Linked DNA regions of Homo sapiens: all the other regions are linked to region 3. The links are contacts of gene promoters, found by promoter capture Hi-C in human tissues and cell types (Jung and others, 2019). All regions are on one chromosome and are shown on one strand. Each heading gives the region's core, a stretch centred on a gene start or on the middle of the fragment in contact. The rest is flanking DNA. Distances are from core to core; before and after follow the strand shown. Region 1 has its middle 130 kb from the start of PDP1. Region 2 overlaps RAD54B (RAD54 homolog B). Region 3 holds the start of GEM (GTP binding protein overexpressed in skeletal muscle).

Region 1 (4,058 bases), core at 637-3,136, 220 kb after region 3:
TTTCACATGTTTGTAAAAAGCATATAAAACAAAGCATAGAAGTGCATTACTCCCTGAAACTAAAATTTAACCCATTGGGGGCGAGGTGGGGGGAAATCTGAATGTTATTCCTCAAATGGGGACATATGAAAATTGTATGCAAAAAACCCATAGAACATATAGCCCTTTGGGGATGGTGAAAATGTTTTAGATAGAAGAAAATCTAGATGACCTTGGGTATGGAGATGACTTTTTAGATACAATACCAAATGCATGATCCATGAAAAAAAATGGACAAGATGGAATTTATTAAAGTTGAAAACTATCTTCTCTGTGAAAGACACCATAAAGAGAATGAGGAGGCAAGCTACAGATTGAGAGAAAATATCTGCAAAAGACATATCTGATAAGGGACTGTGTATAAAATACACAAAGAACTCTTAAAACTTAAAAATATTAACAAACAACCCCATTAAAAAATGGGCAAAAGACCTGAACAGATACCTCATCAAAGAAGATATATTAAAATATACTCAACATGATATGTCATTAGGAAAGTGCAAATTAAAGCAACAATCAGATACCACTATACTATTAGGATGTCCAAAATTCCAGAATACTGACAGCACCAAAAGGACATGGAACAACAGGAACTCTCATTCATTGCTGGCGAGAATGCAAAATGGTACGGCTATGTTGGAAGTTAGTTTGACAGTTTCTTACAAAAGGAGACATCCTCTTACCAGGTAATCTAGCAATTGTGCTCCTTCCTATTTACCCAAGTGAGCTAAAAACTTATGTCCACACAAAAACCTGTACAAGGATGTTTATAGCAGGTTTATTCATTACCATTAAAACTTGGAAGCAGCAAACAAGATGTCCTTTAGTATGTGAATGATGTGGAAATAGGAAACCAACCAAATGAGAAAAGCACAGGCTACTGTATTAGTCAGAATTCTCCAGAGAAACAGAACCAATAGGATATATATATAGAGAGATATATAAAAAGAGAATTATTATGAGGGATTGGCTCATGCAGTTGTGGAGGCTGAGAAGTCCCATAATCTGCCACGTGCAAGCTGCAGGCTTAGGAAAGTCAGTGGTGTAGTTTCGGTCCAAACTCGAAAGCCTGAGAACCAGGGGAGCCAATGGCGTAAGCCCCAATCTGAGTCCTAAGGCCTGGGAACCCCAGAGGTCACGGTAGAAGTCTTGGTCCAAGGATGAAGGCCTGAGAACCAGGAGCATTGATGTCCCAGGGGAGGAGAATATGGATGTTCCAGATCAGAGAGAACAAATTCGCCCTTCCTCCACCTTTTGTTCTATTTAGGCCCTCAACAGTTTGGATGATGACTACCTGCACTGGGGAGGATGATCTTCTTCACTCAGTGGCCAATTCAAATGCTCCTTTCTTCCAGAAGCACCCTCTCAGGTTACCCAGAAATAATGTTTTTCCAGCAATCTGGCTGTCTCTTAGCCCAGTCAAGTTGACATATACAATCAACCATCATAGCTATTTATTCTGAACTTGCTATAGCAAGGGAATCCACCACTGCCGCTTGCATTTTGGCAGAGACTCAAAGGCAGGAAAGAGTGGGGAAGCTTGATAGTGGAGAAAAGGGAAGGCTTCGGATGTGCCCTGTTGGGAGGCTGTTGGAGTTAGGAAGCTACAGGTAGGCTAACTAGAAGCAGAGCATTGTATATGATTGGTTAGGGGTGAATATTTGGCTTTCTCTAGTTGAAATTGGAAGAGGGGACAAAAATTAGGGAAGCCGTCAGTTATTAATCAAGTTCTGGCCATTTGGGGCTGATTGTTACGGAGGTTATTATTTAGCTCCTGAATTGTCACTAGAGATAACAATCTCACTTCCTGCAAGTTGGACTTATATCAGGCTGGCTTCCTGGGTTGTTTATTATAAATAAAAGGGTTGGTCTCCCAGGCAGATTGCTGCAGATTGTGAGTTAAAGTTCTAGTTTTATATATGGTCTGGCCATTGTCCATTTGCATATTCAGTCTCTCAACAAATAAACGATGTGACATCCAAACAATAGTATATAATTCAGTGCTAGAAAGAAATGTGTTATCAAGCCATAAAAAAATGAAGGCAACTTAAATGCATATTACTCAGTGAAAGATGCTAATCTGAAAAGGCTACGTAATGCATGCTGCCAACTATATGACATTCCGGAAAGTGAAAACTATGGAGACAGTAAAAAGATCAGTGGCTGCCAGAGGTTAGAGAGGAAGAAGGGATGAATAGGCAGAGGTCTGGAGGATTTTTAGGGCAGTGAAACTATTCTGTATGCTACTGTAATAGATACACGTCATCTCTTGTGCAAACCCATGGAGTGTATAACACCAACAGTGAACCCTAATGTGAACGCTGGAGTCTGGGTGATAATGACATGTCAATGTCAGTTCACTGACTGTAACAAATGTGTCATGGTGATGGGGTTGTGTGATGGAGGCAGGGTGTACGTGGGAATTCTTTGTACTTTCTGCTCCATTTTACTGACAACCTGAAACTACTCTAAAAGCAGTCAATTTAAAAGGAAAAAAGTTTTAGAACTAGATAGTGTTAATGGTTGCATAACATTGCAAATGTACTAAATGCTAACATAACAAATTACATATTTTAAAATGGTTAATTTCACGTGAATTCTGCCTCCATTTTTTTAGAAAATGGGCATATACTTAAAAAAACACACACATAGTGATCATCCTAGCTTCTGACCAACCACCCTGGTTCATTACTGGGACTCAGAGGAGACCAGGCCTTCTTGGAAAGTGAAGGAAAGGTGAGGCCCCATCTGGGAAAGGATCCATGCCTAAGCGGGGAGAAGGGAAGGCAGGTTTGGTCCAGTGGTCATGAGGAGGGTGATTCAGAAAGTGAACAAGTTTCTGATGCCCACATCTCCCAGGTGTAGCTGTGTGTCTCTTTGTCCTCTTGTCCTACTTCTTGGCCTTTGTCACCCTGGCCTTGAGTCACTGTGCCCTGACAGCAGGATGTCGTGTATGCTCCCAGATAGTGCCAGAGTCCAAGGGATGGATCTACTCACACAGCATGGCGGGTGCCTCTCACCACTTACACCAAACCCTGCCCTGGCTTGTCCTCTCTACACTTCCTGCCAGCCAACTACCTCCACACCATGCCAGCTGCTTCCCAGGGCAGGTTCACAAAACTTTGCCAAAGGCTTTAGTAAGAATGGAATGACACAACTCAACGAGGAATGCAGCTGGGCACCAGGTCTCCCCTTCCTGAAGTCCTGGGGCAAATCTACCCAAGTCAGGTTCCCAGCGGAGGCCTCCCTCTGAGCCTAGTCCATCACCATGCTGTTGGTTCTCTTCCTTCAGAACATACGGCAGTGCTTCTCAAAGGGAGGTCTCCAAACCATCAGCGTCAGAAATTTCTTTAAATGTGGATGTGCAGATCCTTCCCCAGAGCTACTGAATCAGAATCTCTGAGGTGGGAGCATTTTAACCGGCATGTTCGTTAATTCCTCAGGTGACTGATGTTTCCCCACCATCAGGGGCTGCAGGGGCTGCGCTGTGAGGACCACTTGGGCTTTATTTTGCGCCCTCCTCTTCACAGCCTTCTCACTGTGGGTTAGATAGCACCAGGCATCAAAGGGGCCCAAGAATTGTTTTCCAGGCACATTCCAGTGTCAAAACACAAGCTCCTGGTGTCAAAATCCCTTTTAAGAAGCTTTGCTTTGTAGATGTCTTTTGAGCAGGTCGTCAAGGAAGACGTTTGTATCCCTAAGGAGTTGTCATCCTCATTTTTGCTTTAATTGCAATTTTGTGAAACATGAAATTTTGGGTACATCTTAACACAGCTTAGTCCATTACATCCCAGATACTCTTGTGATTTGTCATCTCAAAAATGTATCATAGGAAGGAAGGAAGAGGCAGGGGAGGCAGGGTGCAGAGCTGCAGGCTCCCCCACTCCCTGGCCCACTCCTTAGATGCAGCTCTGCTAGACTTGGGCTCAAGGTCAACTTGGCTTTCAAGATTTATGGTGTTACCTGAACTTTTTCCACGGTCACTCTGTGTATCTCTTCCTTCCCTCATTTTCCTTCCT
Region 2 (4,644 bases), core at 1,235-3,734, 170 kb before region 3:
TTCACTGGAATTTTCAATTTTATATAAAATTTATATAAAGTTAGCAGTTTCTAGAGAAATGGAACCTTGCTTTTTTATGAATTGTCATTGTCTACACTTATTGAATATATGTTAACTAACAAATATAAACAAAATCAATAAGTAAACTTGTTAATGGCATGATTGTGTATATGAAGACAGTTTAAATTATTTTTCTAACACGTTTAAAATAAAGATGAACACAACTAAAGGGAGTTAATGCCTAATTAGGGATTCAGTTTACTTAATAAAATTAAAAGTTTTTTGTTGTTGTTGTTTTTATTCCTTAATAGTCTAGTTTCACTTTGATCTTGGGTCGTATAGGAAAGAGTAAGCTTTCTCTTACTGCTTTGCAAGGATATCAAATTATGAATTTTAAAATACCCCTAAGAGCAACTGGGTTTTTTTAGAGTTAGAAGCAATTTTTTGGTTAAACTTGTCTTCTATGTAACTATTTGCCTTGGAATTTTCAAAAGTATTATCTTGCCACTAATTCAGATTGTAACCTCTGGCAAAATATAAAAATGGCAGCTACATTCTTATTCTGAACCATTTAGGGTAATTTAAACAAATTGTAAACTCCTTGTTAGTTTGAGGAGCCTTTCAAACAAAGCTTTACACAATGTGCTTTTCTATTGGTGGAAGAGGCATTATATAAGCAAATTATTGATTACTATGAAATCCCTTTGAAATTAGGAGAGAAGCAGAAAAAAACCACTTTGTAGCCAAGTGCATATGTTATTTTGGTAATTTACTAGGAAAGTATTTTTGAGCCTAGCTTCTTACCAGATACTGCTTATTTCTACTTGATAGCACAGTAAAAAAAATATCACCAGTGGGAATCCAGGACATGAATACACAGTGGATTAATTCTTGGGGCCACTGGTTAAAATGTTCACTGTGATGACAAATGATGAAATCCCAATAGCTAGATATCCAGAAAACTACGCAGTAAAATTGTTTTATACTGTGCTACTTATGCAGAATTTTCTCTCCCTTGAACCATGGAGAAAAGTGTTTTTTGCATCGCAGGTATAAAACTGTACCCTTTGGTTAGTAGGTATAGGTTTTTATAATTTGAAAACGACATGTAGAAACTGTAATTTTAGTTAGTTGCATATTTTAAAAATAACAGTGAGTAGAAGAAAAATAATATATAAATATACAAGTATCTGGTTACATTTTGACTATTTGTGTGTGTGAATATTTACAATATTCACACACAAAAAATCTTTTGGGATATGAACATTTCTCTGATAAAAATGAGTTGATTTGTACATTTCTATACCTATGGCTTAAATAATACCAATTTGTTAGGTTTTAAAGGGAAGAATATAAGAAACATGCCTTTTAAATTCTTATGTTACTGTGTCTACATTGACATTTTCTCTGTATTAGCTTATTTCTTTAATATATATATTTAATGTGCTTATATTTATTTGATTGATATCATCCTTGAATCTTAATAATCTCAGAAGTTTATAATTATTCTATAATCTTAACTATACTTCTACATAAATATGCCTGTTAATCTTACCAAACTCTTCCTTTTTAATAAGGAAAATACTAGTGTTTGCGTTAACATACTTAAAAATATATACCTGTTTTGTAAGGCTATTTATTTTCTGTAACTCACATTGACTTATGTCTTTATTTTTACCTCTTCCTAATATCAGTTTATATTTTGTGTTTTTGTAAACTGATCTTCAAAGTTCTGATTCTCAAGTCCTTCTCTGTCATTTTTGTGACCTGCTCTAAAGCTTTTTTTCTCCCTTTTTATATTGTTATGCCTTAGTTGTAATGTTTTAGCTAAAATGGAAAGGAATGTTCCAGATATGAGGCATATTTTTAATTTACTTGGTAGTATTATGTCTATGTTTATACTCTCTATTTTACATACTAATTTGAAATAGTAATTATGTGGTTTTAAAAACTTAATTTTCATATGCAATTTTAGCCTTTTCCCATTCCAGGTTTTAGCAGAGCTATTAATAGAAGCAGAGCTTGCTACTTTGAATTACATTTATAATTAATTGTTTTGTTTTTGGAAATAATAAAATGACACAAACAGAGACAAGAACAAAAATGAATTTATATAACCTACAAATAGATTTTTTATTATATACTATATATGTTTCATTTTGTCTCTTAGATAAATATCTGATATTTCTGGCAATTTAATGGCATTAGTAAGTAACGTATGGGTAGTTTTAATCTTTTTCTATGCATTCTGCTTGAACTTGTTCCAGCATTTTAATCATCCATGTAGAATGTATTCTTTTAATTATGTTTCTTATTATATGTAAAATCTTCTCTAAATAATATTAAATAAAGTATTTCCATTCATGTTCAATGATCTAATTTCCCTTTATAACTTTTATTTTTAAGTTAGGCAGAAGCATAAATTAAAAAAAACAACCTCAAGGAGCAGATATTCTTAATTCACAGCTTCACGTTATACATAAAATTATGTTTATAAAACAGAATTTTAAGGTTTATTGCATTTATAATATCATAACTTGTTATGCTGAAGCTTAAATTATGCTAAAGCTGTAGTTGTCTCCATTGGGAATGCATATTTGGTGGAAATTATGTGTAAATTTAATAAACCTTTAATATATCTGTATAGGCCATTAAAAATGTTTCATTAAAAAATCATTTAGTTTGTTTTTTTTCAGTCATTCAACACATAATGAGCACCTACTAGGTTCTAAGTACAGTACCTGCTAGGTACTGAGTATACAGTTGTGGATTAAAACCATTGCTCTTGTGAACTTTACCTGACCAGTGATTGAAAGACTTAAACAGCATCTGAGTCATATGGTTCAGAATAGGTAAAACGGAAGTTTTTCCTATCAGATAAAAGCATCTGAAATAAGAAAGTTAGGATAACCTCCAGTAGTTGAGCATATCCCAAAGCCATATACAATCTTTATGTTTTATTTTTTGGGCAAATGCAGAAATCAGTACCTCCCATAGATGGCCTTTCACTGTCCTTTTATAAGTTATGGGCCTTCATGGTTTTAAGATCAGTCCAGGAGAGCAGAAGCCTGAGGTCTAGGGCTAAGGTATGGGGATAACAAGACTGAGAATGCATTAAATGGCTCTGTACACCATTTGAAAACCTTAGGGTTGTGGGAAAGATTGGTGTCTGTTTGACAACATGAAAACTGGCTTTTCTTTTTATTTTCTTCATTGGCCTTCTATAATATTTGTAATTTCCTGCTCCTTTAAAGCACAATTTTAAAGTTAAGGATGGGGGAGATCTGTGAGTATGTATTATTGAAATCCCAATCTTAGTCACTTTAATGTATTTCAAGTGTTTAAGATTTTTTTTTATTTTGTAACTTTATAGTTTTAAAGCTTTATCATTTAATGTACATTAAATTAAAATTATGCTATAAATATACACTTTTTCTTCATTTGATTTACATATTATAATGCTTTTTTGTGTGCTATAGTGCAAACTTGGATGAGGAGGCACAGGCTGGTACCAGTTCACTACAGGTAATGTTGGATCACCATCCTGTTGCTATTACAGTGGAGGTGAAGCAAGAAGAAGACATTAAACCACCTCCTCCACTGGTTTTAAATTCTCAACAGAGTGATACTTTAGAGCAAAGAGAAGAACATGAATTAGTACATGTTATGGAAAGATCCTTGTCGCCTTCACTTTCCTCTGTTGATATGAGAATGACATCGTCTCCATCTTCTATTCCAAGGAGAGATGATTTTTTTCGGCATGAGAGTGGTGAACACTTTAGGTCACTATTAGGGTATGATCCTCAGATCCTGCAAATGTTGAAAGAGGAGCATCAGATAATTTTAGAAAATCAAAAAAATTTTGGATTGTATGTTCAGGAGAAGAGGGATGGATTGAAAAGAAGGCAGCAGCTAGAGGAAGAGCTACTAAGAGCAAAAATTGAAGTGGAGAAGCTGAAAGCAATTCGCTTACGGCATGATCTACCTGAATATAACAGTCTCTAAGTTTTTTTTTCAATCTTGCAATTTGATAATTTTGATTTTGGCCAAATTACTTTAATTTGGGAATATCCTGAAACAGAATACACGTTCTTGAAAAATGTTGTTAATCTCTATTATGGAAAAACTTTTTAGATATAATTTTCTAATTATTTTCTTTTGAGATATTAAAATTTACTGGTTGGTTGGCATGGTTATAGTTTTTATTGTCTTCTTTTTTTTTTCCCTAAGTTTAATTGTTGACCTTACAAAAGATATTTTATTCTGATCACTAAGATATACACAAATGCATATACAAACACATATTCTTTCAAAGTTCTGAGTCTTCAACATTTTTAGTTAGAACTTTGAAAGCTATAATTAGAGATTTTTAAGTCAGTCTAATTTAGGAGCTATACTAACCTAATACCAAGAAGCTTGTCTGTATGACATTGGTTTTTATGCTTTTATCTTTTGAAGGAGTAAATCCTAGGATTTTAGAGATGGAAGATATTTGGAGAACACTTTTTTTCCATCTCTGCAGTTTAGGGGTAATGAAACAGGTCCAGGGAGAACTCAATGACTTACTTAGGGTAACAAAGCTATTTATGGCAGAGCAGAGACCAGCACTTAGTTTTTCTTTGTGTAATTTCCATCCCGCTATTC
Region 3 (4,405 bases), core at 1,716-4,215:
GTATATCCCCTACTCTAAATAGAACAGCAGTTAAGACTGTGGCCCCAGAGAGTACACATCTGCCACCTAACCACCCTGTGACCCTGGGCTGGTTATTTAACCCTCATTCCTCAGCACCTTTCCCCATAGAATATGGGTAACTGTAGGGGTGATGCGGATTAGCTGAGATAGGCATGCATTTTGGTAAGTAAATGTGAGTTATTTTTGTTGCTTTGAATTCTGCCTCTTTGCTATACTCTTGAGCTACTCATTGTAGCTAGAAACTGAGGAAGCCTTCAAATGCTGGCAGAAAGAATATGGAGAGAATAATTCATAGAACAAAAGACAACTTTCTGCCAATTTTTCCTCTTCAAAACTTGCCACTTACCCAAATGCCCTGATTCTACCTTTTCTCTCCAGCTCCACACCCTCAAGATGATCCCAGTGAGCTGGAATCCTGGTCGAGGGATCTGAGACTTGGCTAGATGAGATTTGGCGCTCAGATGTGCTTTTTGTGAAGTATAACTATGATTTTTCTCTAAATAATTACTCAAACTTAACTTTTAGTCAAGACTCTTCTTAAGTAGTGTTCTTGTTTGTGTTCATGTGGCTTCTTGTGAGACAGACAATTTAAAAAATTTAAAAATTGTTCTATTATCCAAACACAACATTGCTGTGTGCCCCTTCCCTTTCCCCAGTCCCTGGAGTTCATTTTCTTTTGTATGTTTCACATATACCAATGACAAATAGTTCATAGTAGATATTGCCTAGGTATGGAATTAGTTTTTTTTTTGTTTGTTTTGTTTGTTTGTTTTGAGATGGAGTCTTGCTGTGTCGCCCAGGCTGGAGTGCAATGGCACGATCTCGGCTCACTGCAACCTCTGCCTCCCAGGTTCAAGCGATTCTCCCGCCTCAGCCTCCTGAGTAGCTGGGATTACAGGCATCCACCACCATGCCCGGCTATTTTTTTGTATTTTTAGTAGAGACAGGGTTTCATTACGTTGGCCAGGCTGGTCTTGAACTCCTGACCTCGTGATCCACCCACCTCAGCCTCCCAAAGTGCTAGGATTACAGGCGTGAGCCACTGTGCCTGGCCAGAATTAGGTTTTTATAAATGTGAAGTATTAGATTCTTATCAATCGGCAAAAGTAGAACTGAGGAACTATATCATATGCTTATAAACTGATTTCTTCTTAGTTTTTACTCCTATGATGTTTCTGTTGAGACCAGTTGACAGAGTAGGAGTGTCAGTATGGAAAAAGCATGGATCATTTTGAAACATGGATTATTCATCAATTACATGTGTTTTAGAATGGAGTCAGTGATATACTCTTGGAGATGATCTCCCCCACCCCCCATCTCCTCTCCTTTTCCTTTCCCCACATCTGTAGCCACTTCCTGTCAGCGAAACCCAGAAGAAAAACTTGACAGAAGCAAAGGGCATCCAGAGAATTATGATCCCCAGGTTGTAGTTCCAGTTCTGTCATGTCCTAAGCGGTCATCTCCTCTCTGGGTCTCAGGTTTCTTATGTATAAGATAAGTAGGAGATTGGGGCCACAACACCTGAGACTAAAGGAATTCTAAGTTTTCATTACTCTATGGATTCCACCTTTGCTAGCTTGGGACCTGGCAGGTCTCAGCAGCTGGTCATGTAGCTAATTCTCAAAGCAGATAAATGCCTGCAGGATAACTGTGAATTGACTCTAATCACAGCAGAGTCCAGCTGCTTCAATAGATGCTGGTGCCTTTGGCTGCTTCCCGGAGCCACCAGCCAACCCAGAGTTGAAGCTGGCTGGAAAAGCAGATATGTTGGAGAGGCCAGCATCATCTCTAAACACAGCATCTGGGAAATACCCATGTCCCCAGAAAGAGGTCATTGAAATCCTTCACTTGGTGGTGCAGTGCAGAGACTCAGGAAAACCAGGCTTTGAGTCCTGACCCTGCCACTTATACCAGCGGTGTGACCTTGGGCAAATTCTCTGGCCCTATGTTATCTTCCTCCTCCATACAATGAGGGTAGAAATAGAGCCACCTTGCAGAAGTATAGTAAGGATTAAGGTCCCAGGAGGCCTAACAGTACCTACTAAGCAGAGGTCCTCAGAGGTACTTAATAAATGGTAGTAGTAGTTATTATCCTGTGCCCTTTGTTCACAGGAGTCTCTTACAGGGGTGTTGGTCTCAGTGCTCCTCCCCATGGCCAGGCTGTATTGGCTCATGCCCAAGGCGTAGCCTTGCCAGGGAGCCTGGTACAGAGATGCTGCTGATTGGGATGCTGATTAAATTCCCTGATTGAGGAGCCTCAGCATTCTGGCCCAGAGCAGGAGGGCCAGCAATATTTAGCACAATCTGCTTGGATCCTCAATTAAATTGTTTTTCCAAACTGCCCTTTTCAAGGTCTTGTCCTCTTTCCTCACCTCTTTCTGGCCCCTTCTCTCTGGGTCCTTGCCAGAGAAGGGAAACAAAGCCTTGTGGGGCTCCATCTGCTTCCCCCTATCCAGAAGAAGGTGACAAGGCTGTCTTCGTTGCAGAAGATGTGGTTAAAACAAGCCTTGGCTATTCAAGGTGGCTGCAGTCTCATCCTGGAGGCTAAAGTCTCTGCGCATTCCAGGTTGATCTCTGTTTTCTTGGCAAAACTGAGTTCTCAACTCAAACCTGCCTCTCCCTTCCATCCTTTATCCCGACAGCTCGCAAGTGCTTTGCTGGGAAGGACGATTAAGTGTCACTTAGTGTATTTTTCCATTTTCCTGTGTTCATCTGGTAAAAAGAAAATAAAACAAAATAAAGGAGGCCCAGGATTGAACTGTCATTATTTTTTAAATGGAGAGAGAAGGGGTCACATGACTGCGAGTAACTGATTTAGCCAAGTGGCTGCAACTCCGAGTTTGCTGCAGAGCCGCCCCCTCCCGGCGGGGGCGCTGACGTCACGGAAAAGCCCCGCGGCGGGTCGGCTGGGCTGGTTATAAACCGCCCGGCCGCGGCGGCTGCAGGCGGCGGGCAAGGACGGCGGGCACAGCGCAGCACTCCCCGCTCGTTGGCCCGGGTATCCCAGCGCGGACCCACGCGATACGCTGACGCCCCGACGCCGATCCGGCCGAGCCAAGTAAGGGGGACGGCCCGAGACGGAGAAGGGAGAGAGTGGGAGTTTCCCAGCCCGCAGAACTTTCGAAGTTGAGAAAAGAACCCCTGGAACGTGCGCTCAGCACTGGGATTTTCTGGTAGGGGTCAGAGCTTCAAGTGCAAAGGATGTCGCTTCTCATCAGCAGGTTCCTTAGTTCAATTCGGTAGAAGGGTCACCTCCCTCTACAGATCGAGTGGTCAGAGAGGGCAGCCCTTAATGATGCTTTATGTATTTGTTGTTTGAATGTAAGTCTGCCAACTGAGGTGCTGCTTTTGAGACTAAAAAACCGGCTGGTCGTCCTGGTTAGTGGCGAGATGTTGGGGTACGGAGTGTGGGGGTGAGGGTGGGAGAGGAGTGTTTGTGCATCTTGCTGATTGCAACGTAAGTACTTATACTTTATCACCAGTAGCCGGAAAAACAGACCTCCCGGCTAGGGGAGGCAGTCTGCAAAGGGAAAGTTGTAGAGAAGTTGTTGAATATCATTTAGGGGAGTCTTCAGCCTTCTGATTTGCTTCAAGAAGGGGATCTGAGAATGGTGGCTCAGGCCTGTGATCTCAGCACTTTCGGAAGCCGAGGCAGGAGGATCACTTGACCCCAGGAGTTCGAGACCAGCCTGGGCAACATAGTGAGGCCACTGTCTCTACCAAAAAATAAAAATAAAAATAAAAAAACTAGTGGACGTGGTAGTGCAGGTCTGTAGTCCCAGCTACTTGGGAGGCTGAAGTGGAGGATCTCTTGAGCCTGGCAGTTGGAGGCTAGCTACAGTGAGCTATGATCGTGCCACTGCACTCCAGCCTGGGTGACAGAGCAAGACCCTGACTCAAAAAAGGAATCTGAGTTGAATTAAAGAACTCTTGAGAATGGATGTGGTTTTTTAAGAATGAGGCACTTTCTCTGCAAATTTCATAGGTCTGAACATGAGCAGGTCATTTCTCTGCCAGGGTGTCTAGGTTTGGAGCCGGGATGTTTTAAAAGTGGTATCTGTGGGTAAGAGGGCACAGCTGAGGCATAAACTTTAAACAGAAAATTTCCCCCCTACCCCCAATAATGGCAGGTGGATGCTCTCCAGGCAGCTGGAGAGCATCAAGGCAACTTTACTAAACATGGAAGTTCCAATAAGTGCCTGTCCAGTCCAGCCAGGGTTGCAGTGGGCAGGGGAGGGGAGGGTGATGTCATTGCCACGTGTTTCCCACTGAGGCACAAAACCTGCTGGACACTGGTGCAATTAAGAGCCAAGTTTAGACAAGAGCAGCTAACCTGACCAGCTGGTCCCCAGCAACATTAACTTGTTGCTTTTCAAGCCATCTT

The links. Contacts are between HindIII fragments. The study calls those that stand out against the background at their distance.
Region 1: a fragment that was not itself captured here is called in contact with the fragment with the promoter of GEM in region 3 in 4 of the 25 tissues and cell types used here (H1 embryonic stem cells, IMR-90 fibroblasts, mesenchymal stem cells and 1 more).
Region 2: a fragment that was not itself captured here is called in contact with the fragment with the promoter of GEM in region 3 in 1 of the 25 tissues and cell types used here (hippocampus).

Annotation. Positions count from the first base shown.
Region 1 is chr8:94,045,034-94,049,091 of GRCh38, reverse strand. No RefSeq gene overlaps it. Among named protein-coding and RNA genes, the nearest start is that of PDP1, 130 kb to the right of the region's middle. The HindIII fragment of the contact is 5,525 bases long and covers 1-4,058 here.
Region 2 is chr8:94,431,492-94,436,135 of GRCh38, reverse strand. The region is part of intron 3 of RAD54B (RAD54 homolog B); the gene reads left to right. FSBP (fibrinogen silencer binding protein) reads left to right here. Exons shown (of 2, transcript NM_001256141.2): 2 at 3,480-4,644. The coding sequence ends at 4,005. Among named protein-coding and RNA genes, the nearest start is that of FSBP, 3.1 kb to the left of the region's middle. RefSeq lists an enhancer at 836-1,336. The HindIII fragment of the contact is 5,994 bases long and covers 1-4,644 here.
Region 3 is chr8:94,260,879-94,265,283 of GRCh38, reverse strand. It overlaps GEM (GTP binding protein overexpressed in skeletal muscle), which reads left to right and starts at 2,965. Exons shown (of 5, transcript NM_005261.4): 1 at 2,965-3,194. RefSeq lists a silencer at 3,654-3,723. The HindIII fragment of the contact is 10,611 bases long and covers 1-4,405 here.